Linked DNA regions of Homo sapiens: all the other regions are linked to region 3. Evidence: promoter capture Hi-C in human tissues and cell types (Jung and others, 2019). All regions are on one chromosome and are shown on one strand. The core of a region is centred on a gene start or on the middle of the fragment in contact, and the rest is flanking DNA. Distances in the headings are between cores, read along the strand shown.

The links. The method cuts DNA at HindIII sites, captures the fragments that hold promoters and counts their contacts. A contact is called where the count stands out against the background at its distance.
Region 1: the fragment with the promoter of PTF1A here is called in contact with the fragment with the promoter of SPAG6 in region 3 in 1 of the 25 tissues and cell types used here (H1 embryonic stem cells).
Region 2: a contact is called between a fragment that was not itself captured here and the fragment with the promoter of SPAG6 in region 3, in 1 of the 25 tissues and cell types used here (dorsolateral prefrontal cortex).

What each region holds. Positions count from the first base shown.
Region 1 is chr10:23,190,796-23,193,762 of GRCh38, forward strand. It overlaps PTF1A (pancreas associated transcription factor 1a), which reads left to right and starts at 1,517. Exons shown (of 2, transcript NM_178161.3): 1 at 1,517-2,519; 2 at 2,909-2,967. The coding sequence starts at 1,736. The HindIII fragment of the contact is 16,553 bases long and covers 1-2,967 here.
Region 2 is chr10:21,469,393-21,472,120 of GRCh38, forward strand. No RefSeq gene overlaps it. Among named protein-coding and RNA genes, the nearest start is that of MIR1915, 26 kb to the right of the region's middle. RefSeq lists a silencer at 2,135-2,329. The HindIII fragment of the contact is 3,112 bases long and covers 1-2,728 here.
Region 3 is chr10:22,344,163-22,346,934 of GRCh38, forward strand. SPAG6 (sperm associated antigen 6) reads left to right here and starts at 1,334. Exons shown (of 11, transcript NM_012443.4): 1 at 1,334-1,474; 2 at 1,561-1,656. The coding sequence starts at 1,450. RefSeq lists enhancers at 1,183-1,402, 1,363-2,179. The HindIII fragment of the contact is 4,842 bases long and covers 1-2,772 here.

The DNA of each region.
Region 1 (2,967 bases), core at 267-2,766, 850 kb after region 3:
TTGGGGTTGTTGGCAGTTCAAGGTAAGGCAATCTCTGGCCTTCTAACCTTATATATCTTTTGGTTTAACTCTTTGTTCTCAATTCAGTTAATTACAGTGCAATGTCTAAAACCAAGAAGCGTATTTAAATCACTAATCTGAAGAGGCATGACTTGGAATTTGAGAGGCGTCTGAATACCCAACAGAAGCCTCTAGTGAGACAAGTGCCTGAAAAAGGAAGCGGCCCAGGAGGACGACTCCTTTCAGTCCTCTGTAGAGAGAATACGCACGATGGCTGCGCTTCTGAACTCTCCCGGGGTGGAAGCTGCAGCCTGGCTTTTAACCGGAATTGCCCAGACCTTGAAAGTGTTTCTTTGTTGCTCTTAAAAAGAGGAATTCACGTTGCATCGCAGTCTGTGATAAAGTCTGTCTTGGGGCAGAGCTGCATACGTTTTGTGTTTTTTTTTTTTTTCAGAAAAGAAAGGTCGAGAAAGAAAAAAACAAGTCATTCAGGGATGGTCCCTGTGGCCAGTCGGAAAGGTGAGAGACTCGGGCTTTGAAAACGATTCACATTCTGCCCTTTAACTTCAATGCCTTCCCTCCGGACTGCGCCGGAGCAGACGATTCAATGGACTCCTTTTGTATCCAGTTTATTGCTCAGAATCCCTAGGGTCTAGATTTGCTCTCAGAAGAAACGCGCCCCGCTGAGCTGCTCTGGGGGCTGCCCCTCCCGTCTCCCCATTCCTTTCTCCGGGCCGGGGAGGGCAGGGGAGGCAGCCACTGAGCCGATGTCGCTGGGGACCCGCACCAGGCACCACAGCCAGGCTCCAGAGCGGAGTCCCATAGGTGCGCTCCCAGCCCCCGTGTTGCGTCTGGAACGCAGTGGGAGTGGGCCCGGATCACCTTCCAATGACACCCGCATATACTCTGCAAACTGTGCAAAAGCCCTTGAAAAGTCCAGAGATGGGACAGAAGCCCCCAGCAGAACCCAGGCCGGAGCCCCGCGCACCTCGGATAAGGGGGTGGCGGAATGCACCCACCTGGTCCCTGAGGGCAGCACCCTTAGATTGCCCAGGCTGCCGCGGAGGAGGACGATCGCCGCGCGGGCTCCGCTCTCGCCGTCTGGGCCACCGGCGCGCACCCCTAGGAACTTCTCTGGCCGCGTGTAGACGCGGCGCGCGGCTGCCCCAGTCCCAGGGCGGAAGGAGCCGGCGCTGCTCAGCGCGCGCGGGTACGCAGCGGGCACCGCGGGACGCAGGTGCCCCTGGAGCCGCACGCGGGGCAGGTACAGAATCCAGTATGCAGAGGCAGAGGAGAGGGAAGAGAGCGGTGCGAGGAGCCCCGGGCCGCGCGACCCCGCCTTTTCCTCGCCCCAGGAGCTCCCAAAGGGAGCAAAACGCCCCCCACCCCCGCCCACCGCCGCGCCTCCGGGCCCCCTCGCCGCCGGCACACCGCGCTCTGATTGGCTGGCGCGATGGGTCCCTGGCACGCGCCTATGGATGTTGTTATAAGAATCCTCGCGTGCCGGCCCTCAGCTCCAGGAAGTCCGCCACAGCCCTCCCCAGCGCAGCGCGAGCGCGGGCCAGAGCGCAGCGGCCGCGGGCACTCCAGGGAGGCCCGGGGGCGGGCAGCCCGGCGGCCGCCTAGCTGCCCCCAGCCAGGGCCCCGGGAGGGAGGGGCTCGGACGGGCCTTAGAAACTCACCAAGAACTAACACGCGCAGCCCGGCAGTCCCGCTGCCCACTGCGGCGGCGAGCATGGACGCGGTGTTGCTGGAGCACTTCCCCGGGGGCCTAGACGCCTTTCCTTCTTCGTACTTCGACGAGGACGACTTCTTCACCGACCAGTCTTCACGGGACCCCCTGGAGGACGGCGATGAGCTGCTGGCGGACGAGCAGGCCGAGGTGGAGTTCCTTAGCCACCAGCTCCACGAGTACTGCTACCGCGACGGGGCGTGCCTGCTGCTGCAGCCCGCGCCCCCGGCCGCCCCGCTAGCGCTCGCCCCGCCGTCCTCGGGGGGCCTCGGTGAGCCAGACGACGGCGGCGGCGGCGGCTACTGCTGCGAGACGGGGGCGCCCCCAGGCGGCTTCCCCTACTCGCCCGGCTCGCCGCCCTCGTGCCTGGCCTACCCGTGCGCCGGGGCGGCAGTACTGTCTCCCGGGGCGCGGCTGCGCGGCCTGAGCGGAGCGGCGGCTGCGGCGGCGCGGCGCCGGCGGCGGGTGCGCTCCGAGGCGGAGCTGCAGCAGCTGCGGCAGGCGGCCAACGTGCGCGAGCGGCGGCGCATGCAGTCCATCAACGACGCCTTCGAGGGGCTGCGCTCGCACATCCCCACGCTGCCCTACGAGAAGCGCCTCTCCAAGGTGGACACGCTGCGCCTGGCCATCGGCTACATCAACTTCCTCAGCGAGCTCGTGCAGGCCGACCTGCCCTTGCGCGGCGGTGGCGCGGGCGGCTGCGGGGGGCCGGGCGGCGGCGGGCGCCTGGGCGGGGACAGCCCGGGCAGCCAGGCCCAGAAGGTCATCATCTGCCATCGGGGCACCCGTAAGTGCTTCCGCTTCCCAGCTCAGGGAGAAGGGGTCGGGCACTCGAAGGCTCCGGAGGGGCTGGGGGAGCTGACTGCCAAGCAGACAGTCGGACCGACGGATTGTCGGTGGGCACGGAAAAACTTGAATGCGAGCTCGCGTTTCTCGTTTTTTTTTTTTTTTTTATTTTTCTGCCACGTTGACCGCGGCTCTCAAGGGCGCGCGTCCCCGCCAGACTTGCAGCTCCTCGGATTCCTGGGAGGGGACGGTGGGGACTTGAAGTGTGGAGGAAGAGGGTGGTTCTAGTATAACCGGAGAGCACCCAGGAAAGGGTCCTAAAGGACCTGATGGGACCAATGGGAATGTGGTTGGATATTCACAGTCTGTTTTCTCTTCTCACCTGTCCAGGGTCCCCCTCCCCCAGCGACCCTGATTATGGCCTCCCTCCCCTAGCAGGACACTCTCTC
Region 2 (2,728 bases), core at 213-2,712, 870 kb before region 3:
GAACCAAAATATCCTGTACAGGTGAATTTGTTAACAACGGTTGGTTAAGTGTAGTATTCCTAGCAAAGATGCACTCTTGGCTCAGCTCTAGAGGGATGACTGAAGCCAACGTACAGCTGGGTATGGCACCAGAGTTCAAAACTGCTTTAGACAGGATCCCAAAATGGAACCCAGAGGTCAGCCACCTGGATGCCAATCCTCCATCCTGCAGGGTTCATTCTGATATAGTTTCTATATTAGTCCCCACCTAAACCTCATGTCAAACTGTAATCGCCAGTATTGGAGGTGGGGCCTGGTGGGAGGTGATTGGACCATGGGGGTGGATTTCTCATGAATGGTTAGCACCATCTCCTTGGTGCTCCCCTCACAATAGTAAGTGAGTTCACACAAGTTCTGGTCATTTAAAAGTGTGTGACACCTCTCCTCAACTCTCCGTCTCACTCCTGCTTTCACCATGTGAGACACGTGCTCCCCCTTCACCTTCCACCATGATTCGAAACTTCCCAAGGCCTCCCCAGACACAGGTGCCACTATGCTTCCTGTACAACCTGTAGCGTCATGAACCAATGAAACCTCTTTTTTATATGTATTACCCAGTCTCAGGTATTTCTTATTTCTTTCTTTCTTTTTTTTTTTTTTTAGACAGTATCTCACTCTGTCACGCAGGCTGGAGTGCAGTGGCTCGATCTCGGCTCACTGCAACCTCTGCCGCCTGGGTTCAAGCAATTCTCCTGCCTCAGCCTCCCTAGTAGGTGGGATTACAAGCACCCACCACCACACCTGGCTAATTTTTGTATTTTTAGTACAGACGAGGTTTCACCATGTTGGCCAGGCTCATGTGGACTTCAAGTGATCCACCCGCCTCAGCCTCCCAAAGTGCTGGGATTACAGGCGTAAGCCACTGTGCCCGGCAGGTATTTCTTTACAGCAATGCAAGAATGGCCTAATACAATTCTATACCATGATATTTGAATTCAGATGATCCAAATACCATCTCATATATGACAGGACACCTAGGATCCCCTCCAATTTTATGTATCTGGGGATTCTACAGAAAACAACTTTCTTCTCATCTCTTGTTCCAATGTCCTGTACCTGCTGAATTCTCAATCCCTCTCACATATCATCTTGTGAAGCTTTTTTCTTTCTTTTCTTTCTTTCCCTTTTATTTTTTTTAAGATGGAGTCTTGCTCTGTTGCCCAGGCTGGAGTACAGTGGCGCAATCTCGGCTCACTGTAACCTCCATCTCCTGGATTCAAGATATTTTCCTGCCTCCACCTCCTGAGTAGCTGGGATTTCAAGTGCGTGCCACCACACCTGGCTAATTTTTTTTTTTTTTTGTATTTTTAGTAGAGATGGGGTTTCACCATGTTGGTCTGGCTGGTCTCGAACTCCTGGTCTAGGTCTGCTCGACTAGGCCTCCCAAAGTGCTGGAATTACAGGCATGAGCCACTGTGCCCAGCCTTCTTTCTTTATATATACATATATATACACATATATTTTGAGATGGCGTCTCACTCTGTCACCCAGGCTGGAGTACAGTTAGCACGATCTCAGCTCACTGCAACATCTGAACCCTAAATTCAAGCAATTGTCCTGCCTCAGCCTCCCGAGTAGCTGGGATTACAGGTGCCCACAACAAGCCTGGCTAATTTTTGTATTTTTAATAGAGACTGGGTTTCACCATGTTGGCCGGGCTGGTCTCAAACTCCTGACCTCCAGTGATCCACCCGCGTCAGCCTCCCAGAGTGCTGGGATCACAGGCATGAGCCACCTCACCTGGCCCTGGGAAGCTTTTTTCTTTTTTTCTTTCTTTTTTGTTTTTTTAAGACAGAGTCTCACACTGTTGCCCGGGCTGGAGTGTAGTGGTGCCATCTCGGCTCACCGCAACCTCTGCCTCCTGGGTTCAAACAATTCTCCTACCCCAGCCTCCTGAGTAGCTGGGATTACAGGTGCCCACCACCACGCCCAGCTCATTTTTTGTATTTTTAGTAGAGACAAGGTTTCACTATGTTGGCCAGGCTGGTCTTGAACTCCTAACATCATGATCTGCCTGCCTCAGCCTCCCGAAGTGCTGGGATTACAGGCTTGAGCCACTGTGCCCAGCCTGAGAAGCTTTTTTCTACCTACAAAAGCTCATTTTCAAAGCATCCCACCCTCTGACCCTTCCCTCTTTTTTTTTTTTTTTTCTTAAGAGAGGGTCTCACTCTGGCCCCCAGGCTGGAGTGCAGTGACACTATCAGAGCTCACTGCAGCCTTGACCTCCCAGGCTCAAGCAATCCTCCCATCTCATCCTCCCAAATAGCTGAGACTATAGGCACATGCCACCACACCCAGATAATTTTTACTTTTTTTGTAGAGACAGCGTTTCACCAAGTTGCCCAGGCTGGCCTCGAACTCCTGAGCTCAAGTGATTTGCCCACCTCAGCCTCCCAAATTGCTCGGATTACAGGTGTGCACCACGACACTCAGCTGGAACACCATTTTTACTTGCAAGAACAACTGACAGATGTATGATTATTTAGGCTTCAGTGTTTGGCACATTGTCTCAACATTAAATGAAGTGAACCTATCACTTTAAGGAATACAGCTGACAGTGTTGGTTTCCAGTAATAAAATTTGAGCTTTCAAGCAAAAGCTAGAATTTTCAAAAACTTGAATCTGCCACTGTGAGCTTAAAACCTTCCCAATACTTAAAACTTTTCTGCTGAGATCAATGGCGATAATA
Region 3 (2,772 bases), core at 84-2,583:
AAAAGATTGTGGCCATCACTGGCTTTTGAGCTGCAGAAGCAGAAGACATGTACCTGCCCTTCGGGGGTATTAGGGACCCGACTAAACACACTTATTCTTCTCTCTGATTGCTGGACCATTCCCCAACTATTTGGAGCTCCACAAAGTATCAGGACTTCATCAAGAGCTCAGTGAAGGGTGAGATCTCAAAGATAAATATAGAGGACTCATTCCAAATATAGAACCAGTTAAGTTTGCATGCTCCCTTCTGTTGAAGAAATATCAAGGGGTTTCCTGTCTTGGCACTACTTAGCAGCAGCTGCGGCTATGTATCCACTTGACATCTGGTGAAATTGTAGTTTTTGATGGAGGAACATTTAAAGTTGACAACTGTCATTGAAACAACTGGTATATAGTTTTCAAAGACAAGCTAGAAACCAGTAATAGACTAAGTACTTCAATTTTGTTAAAAGAAACTGGGTAAAGGGTTCAAGTTATATAAGATAGGGAAGTCTGGTTTTCCAGGTAAAGGTTCTCTCTCTTTTTCTGTTGGAGATGTCATTCATCAACATAACGAAGCCTAAATTTAAAAGACTAAGACAAAATATTTACAAATCACATAAAAGTGAGGAAACAGCAAAATTAGTAGTCATTAGGAGAAAGCCAGGGAAGACAGGACATTCATCACATCCTTTCCTCATCTGCTTTCCTCACTGAGTCTCTGAGTGCTCATTAAATGCTTTCAATACAGTGTAATTAAGTGTGTGAACATGGTTGTCATGCTCCTCCAGGAATCTTGAAACCAGGAATGCCAGGTATATAACAGCGGGTTACAAAAGAAAACACGGATTCCTAAATCAGTGTTTTACTGTCAGTGCAGTGTTAAATGTCAATGCAACACTTAAGTTGCATTGACATTCATGTGTTGATCGGATTGTACAATGTGACGTGTGAGATTTCTCGGGACCGTCGAAGCTCAGACAACTCCAGGGCTGCAATTTACTCGTCTGGCTGCCCTCGAACCAGGCTCCCTTGGCGCGTGGGGCTCTCCCGGCGCTTGGTCCCGACCCGCGCCGCAGTCAGGATACCACGGCAATCTGGGGTCGCTTTGTAAGGAGCTCCGACCTCCGGGCAGTGCAGGGATACTCGACGGCGCGCGATGTCCCGGCGGCTCCGCGAGCCTGGCGCGCTGAGAGCCCCAGCAGTCCGAGTCCTCGAGCTCGGGCGTCTTCGCGCCGCCGCCCCGCTCAGTGCGCCCAGGCACCGCGGCCGTGACGTCACGCCCGGGACTGGCCGTTGCAGCAAGACGGCCGCGTTCCGGTTCCGGTAGGTTGCCCGGGAGACGCGGGTACACAGAGAAGCGGCTCCCGTCGGAGGCCGAGTCGTCGCCACGATCGCCCCCTTGGTGGACTCGCAGGCCGAGCGGCTTCCCCGCAGAGCTCGAGGAGGGCAGACGGCGGCGGGGGCGCCATGAGTCAGAGGCAGGTGCTGCAAGGTAGGGCCGAGGCGGGCAGGTGCCCTAACTAGCTGGCGCCGAGGAGACCCGGGTGCGGTGGGCTCCACCGACTCTCTCTCCCGCAGTGTTCGAGCAATACCAGAAGGCCAGGACCCAGTTCGTGCAGATGGTGGCGGAGCTGGCGACTAGACCCCAAAACATCGAGACGCTGCAGAACGCGGGTGAGCCCGGAGCCCGAACCCCCGTCGCCCCCCGCGCACTGAGTCCCCGACGCCTCCGCCCCGCTGCCCTGCCCGTGGAGCTCTTGGGGAGCCGCAGTGTGGGGACCGGAGTTCGCAAAAGCATCCATTCTTTTCAGCGGGTCTTTGGGGGTCAGGCCGAGAGGGTGAAGCTTCCAGATGGTTGTGGGAGGTGCGCGTTGTCCCTGTTTCCATCTTCATTGCACACAGGCAAGTGTCAGGTTGAAAGTCGAGGCCCTAGGAATTGCCTGGAGTCATTTTACGTGAATGGGACTCTACCCTAATGAGACCCATTTTATCCAAGTGCCATTTTGCATGCCACCCTGCCTTTGATCACCTTCGACTTCCTCACAGCAAAGCAATTCCAGTGGTTTAGACGTGATTTCTCGTCTTGCTTTAGTGAAAGGGGAATGATATGCTTGAATCTTTTCCAAGAAATTCCAAGTAGGTAGAGACCAGACTTTGCGAAATCCTTATGGCGCGTTCCTTCTACTCCTCAGTCCGGACTCTTGCAGATGTGAGAGGGGGAGAGAGGGGGAGAGGGAGGGAGAGAGATCTTCTTATCTCATAACATAAACTGATAAGAGAAAATGGTTCTTCTTCTTCTTCTTCTTCTTCTTCTTCTTCTTCTTCTTCTTCTTCTTCTTCTTCTTCTTCTTCTTTCTTCTTCTTCTTCCTCTTCTTCTTCTTCTTTTCTTCTTTCTTCTTTCTTCTTCTTTTTTTTTGGATGATTCTACCACCATCTGAACTGTAAGGTAGCATTTTATCACTACTGTGTCATGAGAAATCTTCAGTTTATAGGATGTGATCTTTAAAACTAACACATAATTTAAACAATTAACATGTTGACAGCAAGAATACTTAAGTGTAATGATTACTCTGGGTTTCTTTGAGGGGAATTACTACTGCACCTATGTGATACTTCGTTTTGTCACTAGGATTTTTGGCATTTATTCCTTGTGTGTTTTTATTGGGGGGCATGTATTTACAATAAAGTATATTTTATAATCTTCTAAACGCATTTTAGTTTGAAATAATTGTAGATTCACAACTGTAAGGGATAATACAGAGAGATCCCGTGTACCCTTTTCTCAGTTT